2 separate regions of the Homo sapiens genome follow, and region 2 is linked to region 1. The links are contacts of gene promoters, found by promoter capture Hi-C in blood cells and fetal thymus (Javierre and others, 2016). All regions are on one chromosome and are shown on one strand. The core of a region is centred on a gene start or on the middle of the fragment in contact, and the rest is flanking DNA. Distances in the headings are between cores, read along the strand shown. Region 1 holds the start of ANKRD42 (ankyrin repeat domain 42). Region 2 overlaps CCDC90B (coiled-coil domain containing 90B).

The links. The method cuts DNA at HindIII sites, captures the fragments that hold promoters and counts their contacts. A CHiCAGO score of 5 or more calls a contact.
Region 2: a fragment that was not itself captured here is called in contact with the fragment with the promoter of ANKRD42 in region 1 in 2 of 17 cell types (fetal thymus and naive CD4 T cells); the score reaches 5.1 in fetal thymus.

The regions. Positions count from the first base shown.
Region 1 is chr11:83,190,677-83,197,238 of GRCh38, forward strand. It overlaps ANKRD42 (ankyrin repeat domain 42), which reads left to right and starts at 3,036. Exons shown (of 11, transcript NM_001300975.2): 1 at 3,036-4,052. The coding sequence starts at 3,995. It overlaps ANKRD42-DT (ANKRD42 divergent transcript), which reads right to left and starts at 2,993. Exons shown (of 3, transcript NR_149009.1): 1 at 2,791-2,993; 2 at 379-492. RefSeq lists enhancers at 2,743-2,962, 3,023-3,132, 3,653-4,012 and a silencer at 3,267-3,445. The HindIII fragment of the contact is 14,061 bases long and covers 1-6,562 here.
Region 2 is chr11:83,259,320-83,265,881 of GRCh38, forward strand. CCDC90B (coiled-coil domain containing 90B) reads right to left here. Exons shown (of 9, transcript NM_021825.5): 8 at 6,546-6,562; 9 at 1-2,647. The coding sequence ends at 2,592. It also overlaps a transcript of ANKRD42 not described here. Among named protein-coding and RNA genes, the nearest start is that of CCDC90B-AS1, 24 kb to the right of the region's middle. The HindIII fragment of the contact is 4,657 bases long and covers 1,600-6,256 here.

The sequences.
Region 1 (6,562 bases), core at 1,786-4,285:
TGCCTTAGCTTCCCAAGTAACCAGAATTACAGGTGCACGCCACTACACCTGGCTAATTTTTTTATTTCTAGTAGAAACAGGGTTTCATCATGTTGGCGAGGCTGGTCTCAAACTCCTGACCTCAAGTGATTCACCTGCCTCGGCCTCCCAAAGTGCTGGGCATGAGCCACTGCACCCGGAGTCTGCTTTTATTTTTAATTCCTTCTATTTTTATTTTGGGAGATTTTACTTTTTCTGCTTCTCTGTTACCTGTTTCTGTTTCCTCTTCTAATCCTTCCTGTCATGTGTGTATCCTTTAAGGATTTGTCACGTGCTGTCTCATTTCCTCAGTAAATTTATCTACTACATATTGTATAGTGAAAAAAATAAAACCTTTACCATTATTATGTAAGTGGCTATAAACACTATATTAATTTGGAGTCAGTCATAGTGGGTTCCAATTCCTCAACTCCTACTTGTGTGATCTTGGTCAAATCTGAGCTGTTTCTTCATCTGTAAAAATAAAAATAACAATACAGATTAAGTTGGGTATTATTTGCAAATCATTTATCACAGAAACTGGCCCACATGAATAACTCGATAAATGCCTGGTATACAAAAGGCCTCAGCTGCCCCATGTCTTGTTTTGTTTTTTCTTTGAGGTGGAGTTTTGCTCTTGTCGCCCAGGCTGGAGCGCAATTGCGCGATCTCAACTCACTGCAACCTCCGCCTCCCAGGTTCAAGTGATTCTCCTGCCTCAGCCTCCCGAACAGCTGGGATTACAGGCTCCTGCTACCATGCCTGGCTAATTTTTGTATTTTTAGTAGAGATGGGGTTTCGCCATGTTGGCCAGGCTGGTCTCAAATCCCTGACTTCAGGTGATCCGCTCACCTTGGCCTCCCAAAGTGCTAGAATTACAGGCGTGAGCCACCGCGCATGACTCAGTTGCCCCATCTCTAAAAGTGAGGGGATTAGGATGACTAATCCCAAATTCACTTCCAACAGTGAAAAACTTTATCTTCAGCCTATTAGTTCACCTGCCTGACAGTTAACTCATCAACCCACCCACACAACAGTTACTAAGCCCTTCTCTTAAATGAAATATTCTAGACATCAGAAATGCCAAGATTTTAAGATACAGTCCCTACCTTCCAGAAGCTCAGGGTCCTTTAGGGGTGAGGAAAAATTGTTAAACAGATAATTATAATACAATGGGATAAGTGATCTAATAAAAGGTTGTGGGAATTCAGAGACTTTGAGGAGCTCCTGCAGAAAAATTCAAGACCTATTTTGGAATCCTAAGTCAGGTATTTATTATTTACTAGTGAAGGGGGAATTAATGAATTTTATAAGTATATTAGTCAAGAAGTTTATTCTTTTCCTTAGAGGTAGAATGAAATATAGCCCCCCACCCTCCGGAGGCCTGGGTTAAGAGAGAATATTAACCGCTTATTTCTCCTCTACGCACGGAGAGGCTTATCTGTGTTCCACCGTTTCACGTTCCTTGAGGCACCACGAGTTCCTGCTTCCCTCCCTAGCGCGCTGTAAAGTCACAAGGTTGATAAGCAATTGCTACAAAAGCATGCATTCCCAAGGATGTAAGACATGTGGTGTAACAAATGTAAAAGAATAATTAACTGCCTTTGTTCTTGCTTCTGCAAGTAGGCTTCCTGTAGCACCAAACTCCCGCCACAAATTGCTTAAAAGGTGATTGATCCCTTTGTTCCGGGCTCAGACTTTCTGGACCCCAGTCCGACTGAGCCAGTGATCACCTTAATAATAAAGGGTTGTCCTGAATTCTGTTTGGCCTCTCCCGTCTCTATTTGTCCCGCAACACTAGCAGTATATCCTCAGGCAATTAACTTTTTTTTCCCTTGTTTCTCTCTCTGTAAAAAGGAAGAGGAATACTTATTTTGGCAGGTTATAATAAGAATTGAGTCAAACTCATTTATGTTGGCATAAAAAAATGAACAAGAAAATATAAAGCACTTAGTACAATGCCAGGCAGATCATAGGAACTCAGTAGATGGCAATTGTAATATTACAAAAGGTGATGGAAGTCAAAGACAATTTACTGTACCTCAAGAGAGTAGCGGTAGGATCAGAAGAATTTCCCAAATGTGTTCACAGACCAAAACTGGGGGAAAAGCAGGGTAGTTTCCTGGTAAGACGAACAGCACATGACAAGGCAGAGATATTAAAAAGTAAGGTACGCTTCCAGGACGAGTTCATTATTCCTGAAGGGAGAAGGCAATAAGGGTGGAAAAACTGGGCCGAGAGGGGAATCCAGGTTGGTGATGCCCCTGGAGGGCAGGTAATTCTTACTAATTTCTGTATTTTCTGCTGCTGGCACAAAACGTGACCCATACGTTTGCAACAAATGGTGAAATAATTCATTCCTGTTGTTAAGCAATAGGGTTGTAGAAATATTTGAGCAGTAAACATGCTACAGTGAAAGGATTCTCGGATTTGGAGTCAGGAGACCTGAAGCACTCTTTTGACTAATGACCTGTGTTTTTTTACTGGTTTTACAACTTACCTGCTGCCTGGCCTTACCAAAGTACTGATATATTGAGTCTCTTGACCCATAAAACAGGGGTAACAACTAACAAGCGATTATTAAAGAGTTGGCGCTAGTAAAGTACGCAATAAAAACAGCGGCTGCAGCTGCTAAATTCTCCTTTAGGTCTTTTTCCATACTTGCGAAATGACAGGGCAACAAATTTCCTTCCAACCACCACTGAGAAAGTATACCACGTTTGCCCAAGGACAAAAAGGCCCCGCCCGGCCCGCGCCACACAGGTCACCTACGCAGAATGCAGTCCTGGGGGGTTCCACTTGTGTCGCTCAGCGATGGAGGGCGCGATCGATGACAGGCCACTCCAGAGACGGACCTAGATAGGTTCGCATGAGGCCGAGCCGAATTTCACCAAAAACCAGTTTACACCACCTCCCGATTTGTCCACACGAAAAGCCATGGAATAGCTGAGGGAAAGGAAACCGGAAGTAGCGTGGGCCGTGAGGAACGGGAAATGACCTCAGCACGTCGGAAGTGTACTCGTTTCCAAGGCGACGGCCCTGCTGCCTCTCCAGCCAAGTGGCTGGAGTCGGGAGGCTGGAAAGAGACTCCGAGAAAGTACCAGCGGAAGGCGGCCGCCGCTACGGCGATTCGCAGGGAGTAGCAGACGAAGACGGTGGCCGCCGCACTAGCCACCACGTGTGGAGGATAAACGGTCTACACGGCCATTCCGGCGCCGAGTCTAGGGAAAGAGTTAGCGACGACGGGGAAAGAAAATGTGAAGAGAGCGACCGCCGCTCCAGGGTCGCTGCAGGAAGCCTAAGTGCAGACGCCGGCTTCTCCCGCAGTGACTTGAGAAGGGTCAGTGAAAACCTCGGCCACTGCCGCAGCGTCTCTAGGGAGAGAGTTAGGGGAGATAGTGGCCACAGTCACAGCTGCTCTTGGGAGAGAGTTAGGGGAGACAGCACCTTCTGCAGCAGCGACGTGAATTTTAGTGAAGTTGGAGGCCACCAAACTACCGACTCCAGGGGAACAGCCAGAGAAGACCGAGGCCTCCGCCTCAGTGGTCCTTGGGAGGGAGTCAGTGACATTCGGGACCCGCGAACTAGTGACTTCGGGGATAGAGTCAGTGACGATCGCAGTCGCCGCTTCAGTGGCTCCTGGGAGGGAGGGAGTGTCGAAGGCGGCCACAGCGTTGGTAGTTCTTGGGAGGAAGTAAGTGGAGACCGCGGCTACGCAGCCAGCGACTCCTCTGGTGTGAGCGGCAGTGAAGACGCCAGCTACCGCTTCAGTGGCTTTTGGGAGAGAGAAAGTGAAGACGAAGGTTTCCGCTGCAGCTTCTGGGAGAGAGCAAGAGAGGACCTTGGGCCCCGTCCTAGTGACGACGGAGAAGAGGGCCGCTGCCGCTGCAGTGGCTCGTGGGTGAGAGCAAGTGAAGACCGCCGCAGCATCAGGGGCCTGGACTCAACTCCTCCCCAGAGTCGGAGGTGTTGCGCCATGCCCGGGGTGGCCAATTCAGGCCCCTCCACTTCCTCTAGGGAGACTGCAAACCCCTGTGAGTCAGACTGTCATTGGCCTTCATCTCTGTCGTATTCCTTTTCTCACTTAAGCCCGCAACAGCCTTAGCCCTTTCTGGCATTTCCTTTTCTCAGCCGTCACTCCCCCCTTTCCCTTTTTAATTTATTTTCAGGGGATACCAAAGCTGTTCAGCTCTCCCCTGTTCTGTATTATTTCCGCTTTCTTTCCTTTTTTCCATCCACACTATTCCTCCGAGTCTTCTTGCCCAGCTTGACATCAACTCTTGTTCAGTCTTAATGGACGGACCCTTTTAAGTTCTTCCTTGACTTCCCTGCAGCATTTGACCCTGTGGAGGTGACAAATTAGTACTTACTTAGTTTTCTTCTTTCACTCCATTGAGTGACCCTTTCCCTTACCGTTTTCTTTTCTTCTGCCATCTTCTTAAATGCAGCTTTTACCCCTTGATGATGCCATCATTGGTTCTCTTTTTCTTGTCATTTACTGTGACTTCAGTCCTACTGGTGGCCCTCAAATCGGTTACTCATTCAACCATCCAGTAAATATTTACTGCATATGCCTACTTTGTGCTCCGTCTTAAGGAACTTAAGAAGACAGGCACATTCTTTACCTTCTAGTGAGGAAGATAAATGCTGAGCAAATAATGACAAGTGAGATCAGTGTTATAAAGGACGGTAGAATGCCACTGATTCCAGTAGGGGGTGAGTATGGGTGTCAGAAAAAGCATTCTAATACAGAGACACACGTAACACTGAGACCTGAATTCCGTATCTCTCCTCGGAGCTGCAAACATATATATAGATATCTCCCTTCTGGAAATTTTCCTTGGGTACCTCAAGAGCAGCATGTCCAAAATGTAATTTTATATCTATATATCCTCTCTGTCCTTCAGTGTTTGCTGTCTCAACTAATGGCACCACAGCACTCAGATGATAAAGCCACACACCTTGGAGTTATCTTATTACTTTTCCCTTGTTTCACCCACTGTATCCATTCCAGTTTAGTTCATTCTAATTTTATTAATATTTGTTGAATCTTTCTCCTTTTCTTTTCCCAGTGTTCAGAGTCTCATTTTTTCTGGTCTAGACTATTGTAAACTGTATTCTTACATGATCTACCTACTCTCTCTCTCTCTCTTTTTTTTTTTTTTTTGGAGACGGAGTCTTGCTCTGTCCCCCATGCTGGAGTGCAGTGGCGCGGTCCTCAGCTCACTGCAATCTCCGCCTTCCAGGTTCACACCATTCTTCTGCGTCAGCCTCCCGAGTAGCTAGGGCAACAGGGGCCCACCACCACACCCGGCTAATTTTTTGTATTTTTAGTAGAAACGGAGTTTCACTGTGTTAGCCATGATGGTCTCCTCCTGACCTCATGATCTGCCCACCTCGGCCTCCCAAAGTCCTGGGATTACAGGCGTGAGCCACCGCGCCCGGCCAATCAACCTACTCTTTAGTCTTGCCTTTTTGCTCCCCATTCAGTAAATTCTCTTCCCTGAATTTAGCCTTGTAAACTCAGCCTTACAGCTCTCAATCATTATAATTCTTCTGTTTAAAATTCCTCAGTGATTCTCCACTGTCTGCTCAAGTCCAAGTTTTTAAAAATAAGTTTCACCATTGTCTGTTTCTTGTCTAGTTCTAGCCTATTTATCCCCTTAATACTTTAGTAGTAGGATTTGTGTGTGAGTGTGTGAGAGTGTGTGTGTGTGTGTGTGTGTGTGTGTGTGTGGTTTCTTGACCATGTCCTACTGTTCATGCTGTTTAGGCCTACTCACTGCTCCTACTTGCCTTGGCAAACTCCTGTTAATCCTTGAAGATTCTATCTTAGATGTAACTTTCCCCAGGAATCCTTCTGTGTTCCCCTTCCCTCCTACCCTGGCTGAGTTTGAAGTCATCTGTGCTTCCACAGGTTCCTATGAATATTTCCATCGTTGCTTTTACCACATTATTTTGTATTTTGTGTTTGTATCTTCTCTACTAATCTGTGAGTTCCTTGAGGGTGTCTTCATCTTTTTATCCTTATGGTAGACACCAGACTTACGTTGAGTAGATGGATGAGTGGATGAGTGAATAAATCGGGATGGAATGTAGTGAGAAAAAAGACCATAAAATTAGATGGAGCCAAATTATGGGAGGCCATAGAGGTCATACTGAGAGTTTGGGTTTTGTTTTGTAGAGTAGCAGTGACCAACCAGTGGCAGTTTAGAGTAGGGGCATGAAGTGATTAGGATAGTTGGTCTGTGTAAGATGGATTAGAGGAGTGTCTCTGTGTAAAATAAGTAGAGTGGATAGAACATCATTTGTAGGTCTGGCTGTGCTAGTTTAAAGAAGAATGAAGGTCCGGCCTAGGGATTAACATCACTGAACGTTTATTAAAGGTGTGTGTGTGTGTATGTGTACATGTGCACACCTTACAGATGCTCTCGTTCCCATTTGCCATATATCTTAATTGTTCTTCAAGGTCTTGCTTGAATGTTTCCTCCTCCTCTGTGACTTGTTTTGTTTCTCCTTAATTTTACCTGTACTCTCTGAGGAC
Region 2 (6,562 bases), core at 2,678-5,177, 70 kb after region 1:
ACCCCAGAACCACCATCAAAATGAAGTTTCATGGAAAGGATATAGGATCTAAAAGTAATGGGGACAGGGTATGGTATGCATATTTCTATTCTTCTGTTATTGGATACAAAGCACTTTGTTTGCTAAACCCCTACAATGAGAAAGAACGCAGATCTATTTAATATTTAGTGGCTGTATAACCTGGGAATAAGTATATTTATTTGTTGGGGCTTGAGAAGGTCCAATAAATGGCATACCTCCTTTCCATTCTGGGTTGTGAATATAACTAAGATGAAGAATGAATAAACTAATATAGAGGCCTAAAAAACACCTTTATTTGCTGATAAAACTATTGGAGAAGTTTTTTTTTAGGAGACAGGGTCTCATGTGTTGCCAGGCTGGAGTGCAGTGACTATTTATAGGTATGATCATGGTACACTTTAGCCTTGATGAACTCCTTGGCTCAAGCAATCCTGCTGCCGCAGCCTCCCAAGCAGCTAGGACTATAGATGTGTGCCACTGTGCTCAGCAAGAGAATATGGGTTTCATCTTAAGGCCAGTAAGCTTCTTATCACTGAACTCTAGAACTGGACAGATTTACCCTGTCTCAAGCATTGCTCTACTGGGCCAGGCCTCATCCTGCAGAGGCAGAGCCTGATCCCATAGAAGCAGAACAGAATGAATGTCTCTTCAGATGGGCTGGTCCCAAACAGGAGTGGGGAGGAAGTGGGCTAATTGCACCTTGTTTCTCCTTCCAGATTTACAATTGGGCAAGTCACTTTACCTAGGGCAGAGTGGATAAGGGGATGAAGAGTGACGACAGTGTTATGCTACTGGAGCTTCCTTCACATGGAGGAAAGACGCATTCCCTCTTAATATTTTAGAATATTTTAAATCTTAACAAACCAATAATTTACTTGTTTATGTCTCTCTCCTTAAGATTGTCAATTCAATGAGAATGAAACCATGTTCATCTCTGTGCACACAGGGACTAGCATGCTGTTTGGCATATAGCAGGCAGTCATATTGGTTAACTGAACAAATGCAGTATACTTTGTTACAGTGGACTTTAATATATATGGTAACTTATTAATTGACTCAGTGAAAATTAATCTATAATATACTAAGAACTCTCTTAGGCAATAGAGATAAAAATGAATCAGAATGTAACAGGATAATGTCAAGGTTTTTCTTTTGAAAACAAACCAGCAGTTAGATTTTTGAGGAAAATATAGTTGGAAAGCCTGACTCTCACTCACTGGACCATATGGACCAATCTCTTGACTGCTCTATACTGCAGATTCCCTGTTTATAGCTAAACAAATGACAAGGCTATTTTGAATAATGATTGTCAAACTTTTATAGCTATTACCAAGGCATTATGAACTCAAAATGTTTACTTTCTGGTCTTGTCTTCTTGATCTGGGTAAGACTGAAGAACTAAGATGAAAAGGATATTTTAAAATTTCTTTGAAATTACATATGATTTACTAATAGATATTACTTTGTAAGAAAAAATATATCTAATAACAAAACAAAATACGAATTTAAATTTTCCTATGAGTTTCTTGAGAGTAGGTACTAGATATCAATGTTTGCTGAATTGAAGTCATTAAGAAAAGCTTTGTTTTATGTAATAAATTTAAGATGGGTTAACTTAAACTACATTAAGAAGCAGGGATAAACTGGTTTTTGAGTATCAAATATTTAAAAAATACATGTAATAATCAGAGCTCAATATTTAGCAACTCTACAGATTTCATATTAAGTGTTGTAATTTGCACTAAAGCACACATTTATTTATTTAGGTAATGGAGTCTTGCTCTGTCACCCAGGCTGGAGTGCAGTGGTGCTATCTCGGCTCACTGCAAGATTCTCCTGCCTCAGCCTCCCGAGTAGCTGGAATTACAGGCATGTGCCACCATGCCTGGCTAATTTTTGTATTTTTAGCAGAGACGGGGTTTCACCATGTTGGCCAGGCTGGTCTAGAACTCCTGACCTCAAGTGATCCACCCGCCTCAGCCTCCCAAAGTGCTGAGATTACAGGTGTGAGCCACCGCGCCTGGCCTATCATTTTAAAATTTATTGTTTTAGTTCATTACCAAAAAGAAATCAATCTCCAACTATATGGTAAGTCACTTTGAAAACCCACACAACTTTGTTGTAATAATCTTTCATTTTATAGAAAAATGTAATTATGCAATGGTTATCAGGAAAGTTAATTCAGTAATAAATATGTAGGCTAGGGAATGGTTTACAAATATTCAACCAATACCCACAAAATCCTGTATGATTTACACAACTGTTCAAGCAAACATAAGAAAACTCTGGTTCAATTTCTATTAACTATCAAAAGGACAAAATGCTCTTCTATCTCAAACCAGGTCTGAGTGACAGCTTTTCAATATAATAAAGACACACACCTGCACTCACACACACACAATAAAGACACAGTATCTCTTCTCATTCTAAAACACTTCCTCTTTTAGTCCGTATACACTTCGAATAATCTTGTGTAGTAAATTTTTGCTGCAACTGACAATGTTCAAAGTAAATCTCTCCCGGTTTGGTGTTCTAAGAAGCCAACAGCCACAGCAGGATGAGCATTAATACTACTTCCAGAATCTATAAAATCCCAATGCTATTGCCAGGCAAGTAAACACCGAAGCTGTGAAAAGAAGAAACTGTGTTATAGGTCTTGTATCTGTAATTATTTTGCAGAGATAAAGAGAATAATGTTATCTTTAAGTGAAGAGCAAAAAACAGGAAATCCAACCAATTTTCTATCCTATGTTTTTTATTCCCTAGACAATTAAGTATGAAAGACATTCTTAAGGGCAGCCTTAATGCCTAATTCTTCTTAAAAGCACCTGTATATTAAAATGTAAATTATGTCATTTAGAAACCTATAACCTGTATTTAAAATCATTAACGCTAGCATTATTGACTACTTTAAATAATTATAAGCTCTAATTTCAGATCTCATGATAAATGAAATCTTTCTTATATTAAAAAATTACGTAGTTAGGCTAGTAAAATATACATATATCTGTGAGAAGAGAATTTTAATTGCCTTTTCAGTACATTTTTAAATAATTTCTCATAATTCTTAATAAAATTTTAATAAAAACTCTTTAAACTCAATGAGGTAGAAGAAAAGGCAGAAAAAGCATTAGGTTTTTAAAATAGTTAATATACTACCTGTACTTTAGCTTACATCATTTTGGATAAAAAAAAATTCAGTTTTCCCAGCTTTTAGAAGGTAAGTCTGAGTGAGGCCTTTAGGGACTCCCTAGTCTCCAGTTTGTTTAAAACACCGATGAATGAATTTTTAAAAACAGACAAGTGAGAGATGAATGGAAAACTTTTATGAATAAAGACACAAGAAATTAGCCTTTCAAAGTAAAGTTATTCATAATGTATAAACCCATTTGTACACCACCCCATTTGATCCTACTACTTACTGAAACTTGGTTAATGATAAGATCATTTTCTCAGTTTTAAGAAATGGGATTAGGCATCTCTAAGAAATATAGAGAAGTAATAACACTAAGAGTTTCTTGTCTTACAGCCACTGGGCAATTATATATTCTCCCATTTGATCCTGCTACTATTTGCTGTGTGTCAAGTACTATGCTACTATGCTGAGCAATTACACACACTACTTTATTTAACCATGAGATTGGTGGTATTATCCCCATTGTACAGATGAGGTAATACACCCAGTTACATCGCTAGCAAACAGTGGAGCCGGGATTTAAGACTAAGTGTACTTGACTCCAAAGCCATTTTTTTTCTCTTAATAAAAAAACACACACACAAAATTTGTGATCCTTATTATATACTGTGACACTTGAAAGACTCAATCTGTCATTTATTTGAGTCACATAGTGCTATCTAAGTGGTTACATCCTCTGCTGATTCAACAGCTGATAAATTAAGTTTTAGATAACCAAATGAACACTTATTGTGAGGTGAAGTATACTCTACTTCAGTAGAGTATACAATCGTTACTGCATTTAAGTTTCTCTCTCATGTCTTGCTGCTGTTATTTCAGCTTTTATTTCTCATGGCTGTTGTTGCAGTAACAACAACAATTGGAGCCATCTCCAATTTCTTTTAAGTTTGCTGTTTATCCTCTATACCCTGTCTAGGGAGACATTCTACATATATGTAAAATGCTTAGGTGAGCATATGCCTGGTACATTTTAAGCACTCTGTAAACATTAGCTTTCATTATTTATCTGCCACGAACAAAATCTGCCACATTATCTACATAGATTAAATGGAAATTGCCATTATTCCTTGGTGGCAGTGTTCTGGGTCAAAAGGTGGCGTCTGACCCACGATGAACCATTCAGACTCCTTTCTGAGGATTTTAAAAATTGGAACTAAGGAAAGAGGGCAATCTCTCCTGATTAGTGAAAGTGGAATGATAAGAGTCTAGGTGGTAATGTTTCCAACCTATGGAGAAAGCTGGTATGAGAAATTGAGGCACACAGTCACAGATTTAAAGAGTAAGTTCTGATTCCAATTATGCTTGTAGGTAGGCTATTTTACTTGTGCCCCATCCACGGTTCAGCTGATGGCTGGGGGCTCCATCTTCAACCCTGCTGGCACCTCAACATCAGTAGTGACTGCCCAGAAAATGACTAAGAGTATAAATCGGCAGTTTTCTTTTAGACAGCAATTTGTTAATATCAAAAATCTTAAATGTGCATATCTTTTTGACCCCAAATTTTAAATGTACATAGCAAGTTGTTATATAGAAATACTAGCACAGGGCCACCAAGATATGTGTGTGTGTATGTGTATTTACTCAAACGTTAACACATATATATGGCTGTTCAATACAGTATTGTCCTTAATAATAAAAAACTGAAGGGAGAATGCCTGTTAATAAAGGACTGGATACATAAATTGTGGCATTTTCATATAGGGAATACTGTGCTTTCTAATAAAAAGATGTCTGTGTGGAAAGAAATAGGACATTTGGTTAAACTTTAAAAAGTTGTAGACTATAAAAAATACGTGATCTAATTATTTTTAAGAAGTATATAAGATGTTTATATACAGAAGAAAAAGCCTAGAAAATGTTTACTACTAATAGTAAATACACACGGGGAGGGGCTTTCACTTTTTCGGCTTTTGAATTCTATGAATAATTTATAATGAAATTCTGGGTTGAAAATTCTTTTCTTTAAGAATGTTGAATATTGGCCCCCACTCTCTTCTGGCTTTGTAGAGTTTCTGCTGAGAGATCTGCTGTTAGTCTGACGGGCTTCCCTTTGAGGGTAACCCGACCTTTTTCTCTGGCTGCCCTTAACATTTTTTCCTTCATTTCAACTTTGGTGAATCTGACAATTATGGAGTTGCTCTTCTCGAGGAGTATCTTTGTTGGAACCAACCCAAATGGCCAACAATGATAGACTGGATTAAGAAAATGTGGCACATATACACCATGGAATACTATGCAGCCATAAAAAATGATGAGTTCATGTCCTTTGTAGGGACATGGATGAAATTGGAAATCATCATTCTCAGTAAACTATCACAAGAACAAAAAACCAAACACTGCATATTCTCACTCATAGGTGGGAACTGAACAATGAGAACACATGGACACAGGAAGGGGAACATCACGCTCTGGGGACTGTTGTGGGGTGGGGGGAGGGGGGAGGGATAGCATTGGGAGATATACCTAATGCTAAATGACGAGTTACTGGGTGCAGCGCACCAGCATGGCACATGTATACATATGTAACTAACCTGCACATTGTGCACATGACCCTAAAACTTATAAAAAAAATTTATAATGAAAATACATTACTTTTTATAAAAGGAAAGAAAAAAGACAAGTAATAGTTGACTAGGGCATTCTTCCTAAATCACTGGGGCCCTGTAATTGGGTCAGGTCAGATGGTACTTGAGGAGCTCAGTATGTGACAAATAATCTAATTTTGGGATAGTGTCTATGCTGAATCAGTTGATTCAAGGTAAGGTCATCTGTCCCTCCTCCAGGTTTTTAATGGGCTTATATCTAATTTATTGATCTTTTTTCTCTAACCTCTTTCAAATCTTTATGGAAGAACATAAGCAATAAAAAGAAAATTTTCATTTTTTTTTCCACTGTGGAGTACCACAGTTTATCCTTCTATCATTTTCTGCTTGTGTTTATATATTTCTTTTATATCCACATGCTTTTTCTATTAGTCAGCTGCAGAGTTGCCTGCTAAACTTAGATTCTGAAGGGTAACACATCTGTGAGGATGACAGAAGCTTAACATTTAGAACTGTCCAATACTACACCCTATATGTTCCTTCCTTTGGCTGCGTCTAATTTGTAATCTGCTATAATAAAAATTATAAGTATTAAAAATAAAACCCAAGACTCCAAAAAATATATCCTGAGACTGGAACCTTCTTTAAGCACTACAGGGGACCAAGCAATAAAGGAGCCTTGTTATCTAGCTCCTCCTTTTTTTCCTGTGCCTGCTCAGTTACCTTGATAGGTAGAACTAACAGGAAAATTAGATGACAGCAATTTCTTTCTCTGACAGTCTTACCTGCAAGATAACGAATT